Linked DNA regions of Homo sapiens: regions 1 and 2 are each linked to region 3. The links are contacts of gene promoters, found by promoter capture Hi-C in blood cells and fetal thymus (Javierre and others, 2016). All regions are on one chromosome and are shown on one strand. The core of a region is centred on a gene start or on the middle of the fragment in contact, and the rest is flanking DNA. Distances in the headings are between cores, read along the strand shown. Region 1 holds the start of LOC105370274 (a long non-coding RNA gene). Region 2 overlaps NDFIP2 (Nedd4 family interacting protein 2). Region 3 holds the start of NDFIP2 (Nedd4 family interacting protein 2).

The links. Contacts are between HindIII fragments. The CHiCAGO score rates a contact against its expected background, and 5 or more counts as called.
Region 1: a contact is called between a fragment that was not itself captured here and the fragment with the promoter of NDFIP2 in region 3, in 1 of 17 cell types (activated CD4 T cells). The highest score is 13.6, in activated CD4 T cells.
Region 2: a contact is called between a fragment that was not itself captured here and the fragment with the promoter of NDFIP2 in region 3, in 1 of 17 cell types (activated CD4 T cells). The highest score is 11.4, in activated CD4 T cells.

The regions. Positions count from the first base shown.
Region 1 is chr13:79,429,246-79,432,669 of GRCh38, reverse strand. LOC105370274 (a long non-coding RNA gene) reads left to right here and starts at 3,332. Exons shown (of 4, transcript XR_942112.2): 1 at 3,332-3,424. The HindIII fragment of the contact is 1,578 bases long and covers 1,260-2,837 here.
Region 2 is chr13:79,526,525-79,530,216 of GRCh38, reverse strand. The region is part of intron 2 of NDFIP2 (Nedd4 family interacting protein 2); the gene reads right to left. Among named protein-coding and RNA genes, the nearest start is that of LINC01068, 38 kb to the left of the region's middle. The HindIII fragment of the contact is 5,984 bases long and covers 1-3,692 here.
Region 3 is chr13:79,479,083-79,482,679 of GRCh38, reverse strand. It overlaps NDFIP2 (Nedd4 family interacting protein 2), which reads right to left and starts at 1,525. Exons shown (of 8, transcript NM_019080.3): 1 at 1,156-1,525. The coding sequence starts at 1,476. NDFIP2-AS1 (NDFIP2 antisense RNA 1) reads left to right here and starts at 1,449. Exons shown (of 3, transcript NR_046685.1): 1 at 1,449-1,528; 2 at 2,750-2,844. The HindIII fragment of the contact is 10,753 bases long and covers 1-3,597 here.

The DNA.
Region 1 (3,424 bases), core at 799-3,298, 51 kb after region 3:
GCAGGTTGTCCGGTCATCTGCCAAGTCGGGTGGAGTCCGAGGTTTTTACGAGCTTCAGAGGGGAGAAAGTGCATGCTGATTGGTCCATAGGCAGCCATGGGTGGGCCCAGAAAATGTACCATATATTCTCACTCCAGTCCACAGAACTGTCAGCCAAGCCCCCAGGCTTCAGGCCATCCCTGGCTTGAAGGTGGGGCTTCACTGGGAACCCGCCCCGTTTCTCCCAGGAGCCTGTCTGCTTCCTGCTGCCATCAACCTGCCATCCCTGAACAGCAGAGGCTGTTCATGCCTACGGGTGCCTACAGGCCCATGCAGAGCTGCCCTTAACCCTCCTTGGCCTCCCTCCCATGCTTGTCGGAGCCCAAAGTCCAGAGGGGGCCCAAGTGGCAGGTGGCTGGTGTCAGCACTGCCCAGAGCATGCTCACACCCAGCCAGGTCAAGACAGTGTCTGGGCTAGGCCACAGCCTTGCTCCAAAATTGGAGCAGGGGCCAGGAGTCTGGAGAGGCCAGGCAGTGGGAGCAGGCACTTCCGAGCCTGTGGGGGCACAGGAACTTCCTGGCCCCCGAGAGTGCAGAGATGCCCAGGTCCACAGCTGCTGCTGTGCAGCCACAGCTGCACCGGGGAGCATGAGGCTCCCTCACTCTGCCAACTCAGAAGGGCTTCTGCCTGTTGCCAGCTCTTGTCCGCTCTGTGGAGCATGCAGCCCTGGCTGAGCCTCCCCTGCTGCGGCCAGCATCATGGCAGTGGCCCCTCCAGATGGGCCACCACTGTCATCAGTTGCAATTCCAGTGGCCATCTTATAACCTTGAGGATGAAAGACATGTATTAAGAAAGGCCTAGGCCTAGATTCCTGTTGTCTTTGTGGAACTCCTTATCAGTGTGGATCACCCATTTCTGAACATTTTTTCTGTAAAATAATATACTCTTAGACATTTAAGTCATTGTAGTTAGGTCTCTATTTCTAGGAGCTGACAACATTTCTAGATAATATGATACATCTCTGCAATCAGACATCAATGGTCCTTCCTGAAATACTTTGGTTTATTTCGTGTGGATGTAATATAAGGAGAAATTATATAAGAATATCTTTGCTTAAAATGATAGATATTTCTCTTTATTTTTCCTCATTTATGAATTTTAGGTGAGAAGCAATCAATAATGCTGGCCACTACTACCTCAACTTTTTAATCTCATCTTTTCCATACTATGACAAACAATTTAGATAGGTCAATGTGTGGCAGTTTAGAATCACAAAGCTTTGCCAATATGAGCTTGTAGAGATCCTCAACTTTTTACCTTCTGTTTATGTTTACTATTACTGTCCCATTTTAGGCCATCATCATTTAGTCAGTTACTTGGGGCTTCCTGTATCTAAATCTTTTTCACTAAGCCCAATTATCTGTACTGACATCTAATAACCATTCAACATACATTCTGATTTTTAAAATTACTTTAAAAACAACTACCTAAATGAACTGGAGAGTAACTAAAATCAGGCAGAAGTTGGATATAACACTTAAAGGAAAAAAAGTGGCAACAGATGAGATACAACACTAGAAAGAAATTAGCTATCAAGTCATCAAAAGACATAGAGAAACCTTAAATGCATATTACTAAGTGAGAAAAGCCAATCTGAAAAGGCTACACATACTGTATGATTCCAAATATATGACACTCTGGGAATGACAAAATTAAAGACACCAAAAAAGATCAATGGTTGCCAAAAGTTGTGGAGAGGGAGGGATGAATTGACAGAACACAGAGGATTTTTAGGGCAGTGAAACTATTCTGTATGATACTACAATGCTGAATAAATGTCATTATATATTTGTCAAAATCCATAGAATGTACAACACCAAGAGTGAGTTCTAGTGTAAACTATGCATTTTGGGTGATAACAATGTGTCGGTGTAAGCTCAATTGTAACAAATGTTCTAATGTGGTGTGAAATGTCCATAGTTGGGGAGATTATGTGTGTGGGGACAGGAGTATATGGGAAGTCTCTCAACTTTCTGATCAATTCTGCTGTGAACCTAAAACTGCTCTAATAAATAAAGTTTATTAATTTAAAAATTTTATAATCTTCCAAGAAATATGATAGAATCCAAAGTCTCTACAATATGATTTTTACAAGAACACTTAGAAAATTACTACATATGGGCCATACTTACAAGAAAAGACAATCAATGAAGACTAACCTCATGATGTTGGGATTAGCAGAGGATTTTAAAGCAGCTGTTATGCTGTGCTCAAGGATGTGAGAGAAAATATGCTCATAATGATTGAACAAATAGGAAATATCAGAGAAAAAACTAAAAAAAAATATTTGATATTTAAAAAATACTGTGTGGGCTTAACAGCAGTTTAAAGATGATGAAAGTCACTCAACTTGAGGATACAGCAATCAAAATTATCTACTCGGAGAAACAGAGAGAAAGAAAGCTGTAAATTAAACTGAAAAAAAAAAAACCCTCAGGGTACTGTGAGACAATTGAAAAAAATCTAATATATGTAAATTAGATTTCTAGAAAGAGAAGCAAGTGGGAATGAACCTGAAAAAATATTTGACTTAATAATTTGTTAAAAAACATAAATGTACAAAATCAAGAACTCAGACAACCTCAACTAGAAAAATATGAAGAAAATAATATCATAATCAAATTGCTGCAAATCAAAGAGAAAAAGAAAATCTTGAATGTGGCCAGAGTAAAATGACACATCACATATAGGAGAATCATGATATGAGTGACTGCCAACTTTTCTTCAGAAACAGTGGAGACCAAAAAGACAGTGGCACAACACTTTTGAAAGGCTGGAAGAAAAGTACTATAAAGCTTATATCCATGGAAAAGATCCTTCAAAAATAAGAAATACACATATTTTCAAATAAATATAAACTAAACCTTACACCAAAGAAATAAAAATGTATATGTATAAATAGATATGTACAAGAATGCTTGTAGCAGCTTTATTCTTAATTCTTAAAGCAAAACAGTATCTACAAGAGCATGGATAAAATGTTGGTATATTCATGCAATGGAAACTACTCAAAAATAAAAATGAATGCAATACAGATATATACAACATGGATGAATCTCTAAAACAATGCTGAGTGAAAGAAAGCTTATGCAAAACAGTACATACTGTATGATTCTATTTACAGATTCTATTTTAGAACAGTGGTTGTCTATGGGTGGAGGGGTGGGCATTCACTGTGAAGGGAACATGAGGCAACTTTTGTGGTGATGGTATTTTTTTGTATTTTCTGTCTCAGGTTAGTCATTTGTTCAAACTCATGGAATAGTACACTTAAGAAATGTGCATGTCACTATATGTAAATTTTATCAAGACATAATATAAACAAATAAGGAACTCATGTTAATGACAACAAAACTATAATCATAACACTTCTACATATCATAG
Region 2 (3,692 bases), core at 1,002-3,501, 47 kb before region 3:
AGGAATCCAAGACTACAGTGAGCTATGAAAGCGCCACTGAATTCTGTCTCTAAAAAAAAAGAAAAGAAATTGCCATAGCCACCCCAATATTCAGCAACCACCACCCTGATCAGTCAGTAGCCATCAACACTGAGGCAAGATCTTCCACCAGGAAAAAGATTATGACTCACTGAAGCTCTGATGATCATTAGTATCTTTTAGCAGTAAAGTTTTAAATTAAGATATGTACATTTTTTAAACATAATGCTACTGCACCCTTAAGAGTATAGCGTAAACATAACTTTTGTATGCACTGGGAAACCAAAAAATTCATATGACTCTTTTCACTGAGATATTCGCTTTACTTCAGTAGTCTGAAAATGAACCAGCAATATTTCTGAAGTATGCGTTTATTTTTTTACATTTGTTTACAATTTTGTCTAACAGAATTTCTTGCATTTTCAACCTAAAAATACATTTTACTCTAGCAATACTTCTACTGTATTTTCATGCATATAGGTCTTAAAACAATTTTTAGTGCTATCAATAAGAGCTAAGGACCTGAAGTTAGGTCATTTTTAATCTAATCACATGGAATTGGTACTAGCAGTATAATACTGAATGTTACCAAACACAAGAGACAAGAGTCAAATTCTTAGAAAAGATTTATTATCAGGATGTAAAAACGTAAGTGGTCAAGTAAACAGATTTCTTTAGTTTTAAAAGAGTAGAAGCAAAATCTAAGTAAAAACAATGTTTACAAATTTTAAGGCAGTAACATTAAAACTGTAAATTTTAAAAACTGGAACAATGGCACACATTATCCAAGGAGATGTGATCTTTTATAATAACAAGAATGTAAATTTCTGAAAGGTTTTAATACTCAAGATAGAAAAAAAAAATCCCTACCACTAATACATGAAAGTTGGGTAGGAAAACTCAATTGCTACAGCTTTAATTTTCACTTTTAAATTTTACTTATTTTTATCTACCCTTTTAAAAGAGTGGTTCTCAACCAGAGGATTTAAAGTCTGGCAAGCTCCAGCTCCAAATCCTCCTCTTAGAAGTTGTGTGACCTCAAGCTAATCACTTAAACACTATGAAGCTCCACTTTCTCATCCATAAAACTGACACAGCAGGGCTGTTACTTGCTATTATGGGATAAAATAGAAGAGTATTCAAGAGGACTCTGTAAACTGTGAAGCATTACACAAATGTCACGTATTATTATTTATGTTACTCAGATCTATAAAAACTAGCCAAAAAGTGACCTAATGGAGAATATAATCTCTGCAAAATCTAGCAGAGCTCATGTTTAAAATACAGTCATGCATCACTTACTAACACAGATATGTTCTGAGACATGTGTTAAGCAATTTAGTTTTTGTGGAACATCATAGAGTGTACTTATATAAACCTAGAGTGTAGAGCCTACTACATAACTAGGCTATATGGTATATAGCCTATTGCTCACCGACTACAAACCTGTATAGCATATTACTGTACTGAATACTCTAGGCAACTGCAACACAATGTTAAGTATCTGTGTTATATAAATACATCTAAACATAGAAAAAGTACAGTAAAAATATGTTCTAAAATATTATAAAGTGGCCGACCTGGATAGGGCACCTACAATGAACAGAGCTTAGAAGACTGGAAGTTGCTCTGGGTGAGTCAGTGAGTGAGTGACGAGTGAACGTGAAGGCCTAGGACATTACTGTACACTACCGTAGACTTTATAAACACTGTACACCTAGGCTACCCTAGATTTATTTTAAAATATTTTTCTTCCTTCAATAATAAATCTCAGCTTTCTGTATTTTTACTTTATATACTTTTAAATTTAACTTTGTGACTCTTTTATAAGAACACAGCTTAAAACACAAACACATTGTACAGTGTACAAAAATATTTTCTTTTTTATATCCTTATTCCACAATCTTTTTTCTATTTTTTAAATTTTTTAAACTTTTTTTTGTGTGACAAGGTCTCACTCAGTCACCCAGGCTGGAGTGCAGTGGCACATAGCTCACTTCAGCCTCAACTTCCCAGTCTCAATCAATTGTCTCACCTCAGACTCCCAAGCAGCTGGGACTACGGGTGTGCATTGCCACACCCAGCTAATTTTTGTATTTTTTGTTGATGAGGGTTTCGCCAAGTTGCCCAGGCTGGTCTCAAACTCCTAGGCTGTGATCCTCCCACCTCAGCCACCCAAAGTACTGGAATTATAGGCATGTGCCACCGTGCATAGCTAGCTTTTTTATTAAAAACTGCAACACAAACACGCACACTAGCTTAGGCCTACAAAGGGTCAGGATCGTCAATATCATTGTCTTCCACCTCCACATTTGTCCCACTGGAAGGTCGTCAAGGGCAATAACACACATGGAGCTGTCATCTCCTATGATAACAAATGCCTTCTGGAATACCTCCTGAAAAGATCTGCCTGAGGCTGTTTTACAGTTAATTTGTTTTTTATAAGTAGAAAGAATACACTCTAAAATAATAATTAAGATTAATAAATATACAAATCAGTAATATAGTCATTACCATTATCAAGTATTATATACTGTACATAATTGTATGTGTTAGACTTGTACACAACCGACAGAGTATTGGATATGTTTACACCAACACTGCCACAAACACCGAGTAGTGCAACCTTACGACAGCTACCATGTCACTAGATGACAGAAATTTTTCAGCACCATTGTATACACATGCAGTCTGTTGCTGGCCAAAATGTTGTTATGCAGCATATGACCATCTTTAAAGAAAGTGAAAACAACCCAATTACTATACCATCCAGACTAAGTGATTATTTTTAACATATTTTGGAATTTCCTTTACGTGGAAATGTTCATCTATTTCTTAAATAATGGGGATCACATCATATATGTCATTTTATATTCTACTTTTTAAATTTGCTATTTCAAAGTGTGTGATATCAGTAAACAGCCTTCAAAAAACCTAATTTTAATGTTTATGCAATATTTAAAAATACTATCATTTGAAAATGTATTTAATGATTCCCCTATTTTGAGCATGTGTGATGCTTCCATTTGTTAGTTATTAAAGTCACTTGCTGTCTTTGCTTCCTCTCTACCTGTGCTCTTTTTAACCCATTATATGCTAGGTTTCTATTTGTAACACTCCAAAGAAACCATTATGGCAAAAGTCACCAGTGATCTTCAAATAGCCAAAATCACAGGACACCGCAATTATAAAACATGACTGTGGACTTTAGAATTAGATACATCTGAGTTCGAATTCTGTCTTTACCACTGAGAAGCTATGTGAACACAGGCAAGTTATTTAATTCTCCATGATTGTTTTCTCCTCTGTAAAATGAACCTCATTTTTACAGATGTGATTTACTCAGGATGGCTGGAAAATCAGATGAGCTATATACCTAAGAACTTGGGAGAAAGGGCAGGTATGCAGTAAGCACACAGTAAGTGCTAGGTATAATCTTTTTAAATTCTTGACCAGCCACTTCTTTTTAAAATTCTCTCCTCTCTTGGCTTCTAGAATATTCTTTTCAGAGTCCTCTCCTACCTGCCTAATAGTTCTTCTTTACTTGTGTTGCTAGTCTTCAAGGTTCTTGTGTTACCCTTTATCTAACTTCATTCTCCTGAAAGTCCTTGGATGACTCTATCCTAGTGTTTCTCATAACTCTCCAGCTTCTCTTTTGTTGACCTGCTAACATT
Region 3 (3,597 bases), core at 276-2,775:
TCATATTTGCCAAAATGTACTTATTAATAGAAAGTCTTGGCTTATAACCTGTCTTACATGTGCAAATAGATTTGAAAGTTGAAACCTGGGACTAACATACCTAAATTTGTAAAATTTTATAAACCATAAACTGCATCACCAGTGCTATGTATTGTTTTTCTCCTCTCCCTCAGTAAATGGGCTGAAAGTTTGTAGAATGACATGCTACCTAGCTGCAACAGCACAACAGCAGAGTCAACTATTGCTCAGTCCATCTTTAACTAAGGTTTACAACAGGAATCTCCAACGTCACCACCAGAATACACAAAGAAAAATATATTTAAAAATTGACACTGAAAATATAGAGGAACACATTTCACTTTTTTCAACATAGTTACCAAAGTTTACACAGTTAAGCTGGAAAACCTTGTATTTAACGAAAAATAATTTTTCAAACAAGATTAGAATTTGTTCTACTAAAACTACCTCTGTTTCCCCTCTAACCAAAAAAAAAAAAAAAAAAAAAAAAAAGAAAGAAAGAAAGAAAGAAAAAGTGGGGATTACCAAAAAATACAGTCATTTTTAATACTAACATAATGGAAAAGGACAAAATGACAAGGTTAACGAGCAGAGAGACAAGATCAGCATTATGGCTAGTCTTTCTCTACAGTTCCACAATTCCTAACCCACATTTTTGCCAAATCCACATCCCACCCCACGCAGTACTTACACCTCCACCCACCTACTCACCCACCCCATTTATGACGGCGATCACCTTCCGGGCAGGTATGTGAAGTCAGCCCCATTTCCAGTAGACAATCGACTAGAATGTCTCAGGAGTGACTGAGTCAGAGAATAAGAAAATGATAAAGTGAGAAATTAAAACGGATACAAGTTGTAAGGTGTGTGGAGGGAGGGCGTCTCACAGCGGGGCTAAGGGTGCGGGTGAGGAGCTAAGCAGACTTGGGGCGAGAGAGAAGGGTTTCGAAGGAGTCCTAGGCAGGAGTGCGCAGGTGAGGCGAGTGAAGCAGCTCCAGCCAGAAGATCCAAAAAAACAAAACAAAACACAACAAAAAAAAGCCACAGCTTTTCCTCCGGGAATAACCTGAGGAAAGGGACTCTCGGGACGCCGCGGCGGGAGGCAGTCCCGGGAGGCACAGGAGGCCGGGAACTCACCACCTGGTAGCGCCCAGTCCCCGGCTGGTGGTGATCCATCCTGCCCGGCTCGGGATCCGGCTTCCGAGAGAGGGAGTCTTCTCCGTGCTCAGCTCCCACGGCCACCCCCGTCGACGACGTCGTCGCCGCAGGGCCCCTTCCGCCTCCGTTCCTGCAGCCGCGGTCTCCCGGCGGAAGCTCTTCACTTCCTGTGGCTCCCGCAGCGGCCGCCGAGACCTCCGCGTTGGTCGCGGTTCCGCGGAGAAGCTCCGGGGCGCCGCGCGCGCTATTGAGCATGCTCGGACCGCTCGCGCAGACTCGCTGGCTCCGCCGGCGTGCCATCCGCGCCGCCAGTGGGAGGGTATAGCTGGGTGGGAGGAGATGGAAAAGTAAGGCAAGTCCGGGGGAGCTGTCTAGGTTGTCAACCTGTCGAGTGGGCGGTCGCAAAAGGCGCGCGGGGGGCGGGAATGACCCGTCCTTGATTGGTCTTTTCTGTGTGCGCGAGTTTCGCGCAGGCACGAGCCAGTGCGCCTTCTCACCACACAGAGACAGAGGCTGACAAGGGATGGGGCCGCGTTCCTAGAACACCTGAGGACAGGTCGCCCGGGTACCCGACACTTCCTCACCCAGCGTAGGACATGGGGAGGAGATTCATCTCTAGAACATTCCCAAAACGCTTATTCAAAATCATTCGTAAGATAAGCGATTTTTTAAAGACTAATATAGAGTAGTTAGAGTTTACAGAAAAATTGAGAAGTTACAGAGATATCCCATATACACTTGGCTCCTACGCATGCATAACCCCCCACCATTATCAACATCCCCCCTCAGAGTGGTACATGTGTTACGACTGATGAACCTGCATTGACACCTCATCATCACTCAAAGTCCATAGTTACCTCAGGGTTCACTCAGGTTGTTGTATACTCCTCGAGTTAGAACAAATGTGTAATGGCAGGTATCCATCATTATAGTATCCTACAGAGTATTTCCACTGCCCTGAAATTCTTCTGTGGGGTAATTTTTGTTTTTGTTTGTTGTTTTTTTAGAGATGGGGTCTCACTATATTGCCCAGACTGGAGTGCAGTGGCTGTTAGCAGGCGCAGTCATGGCTCACTGTAGCCTCGAACTCCTCGGCCCAAGCTATCCACCTGCCTCAGCCTCTGGAGTAGCTGAGACTACAGGCACTAGCTCTTTGGTTACTTTTTAAACTCTTTTTTCCACTTTTTGGTAATAAGAGATTTAAAAATCCAACGGACTCTCCAGACAACTCTCAAAGAAAGAGGTCTCTAGAGTTCTAGGTTACTGGAAGGACGTTAGAAGAAAGTAATGAAATCAGATAGGATTATTTTGTGGTAATACTCAATAATTCCAATTGATTTAACAGCAAGGAATCACTTGGGAGCACTGTTAGTAGTATCTCACTGTCTGGTTAACCACACATGACACGGCATAAAGCATATTTCTCTAGCAAGTAGAAGAGTATGACAGAGCAGCGAAAAGTACCTTTTAACCTGAAGACCAACGTTCTATACCCTAAAAACTATGATGCTGCTTGATGTGGCCCAGCTATGTTTTTAACATAACACCACATTTTCCCTAAATGATCTTACAGTGGAGCGCCCTGAAGGGAAGGAAAGGGATCTGGAGCCCCATTTATTTCCTTCATGAATGTCCAGAGGAGATCCTTGAAATGAAGACTGCCACTGGGTGAGCCTAATCAACTGGTTAAAATAGCAAGATAGAATAAAAACAGAAACTCTTTGAGAGATTGACAACTAAAAAATGTAAGCCTTCCTCATAGTTCTTTTTAAAGCATTCATCAACTCTTCCTATTTGTGCCGTTTTGACATGTCTAATAGCATAAAGCATTACTGTGCTAACAATAAGAGGCAGTGATATCTCATACTTAAATATTGTTAAACTTGCCTTGTTTTGATCTTAATGTATTTTAGTTTCTAAGCCAATAAACATATGCCATTTTATTGGTATTACTGGTACAAACGCTCACTCTCACAATTTCACTCCAAATGGTATTGCCTCTCGATGACCAAAACAACAGCCAGTATCAGCAAACTGAAATTAGATCCTTATATCACTTACGATCTATAAGATTTATTTAGAACTTAATTTTATATGCATATGTGTTTTCATTAATCATTCATGTGTTCATCTGTTTCTCAAATAGATGGCTGCTCAGGGCAGAGACCATTTCTTACACCCAATGCAGCACTGAGAACATAAAAGTAAAAATCAAAGATCTGACCAAAAGCAGACATCTTGAATCCTGATAGAGTAACAGATTCTTTCTATTTTACCCTCCTCCCAGATTCTCTGAACATTTTGCTAATCTAGTGGAGTAACAAATTCAGCAGGAAAGCGTATTTGTAATGAGGAAGAGAAAGAGGGGAAGGAGAAGTAGAACAACAGCTTACTAGTATAGAGCCCTTTCTAAGCCAGTAC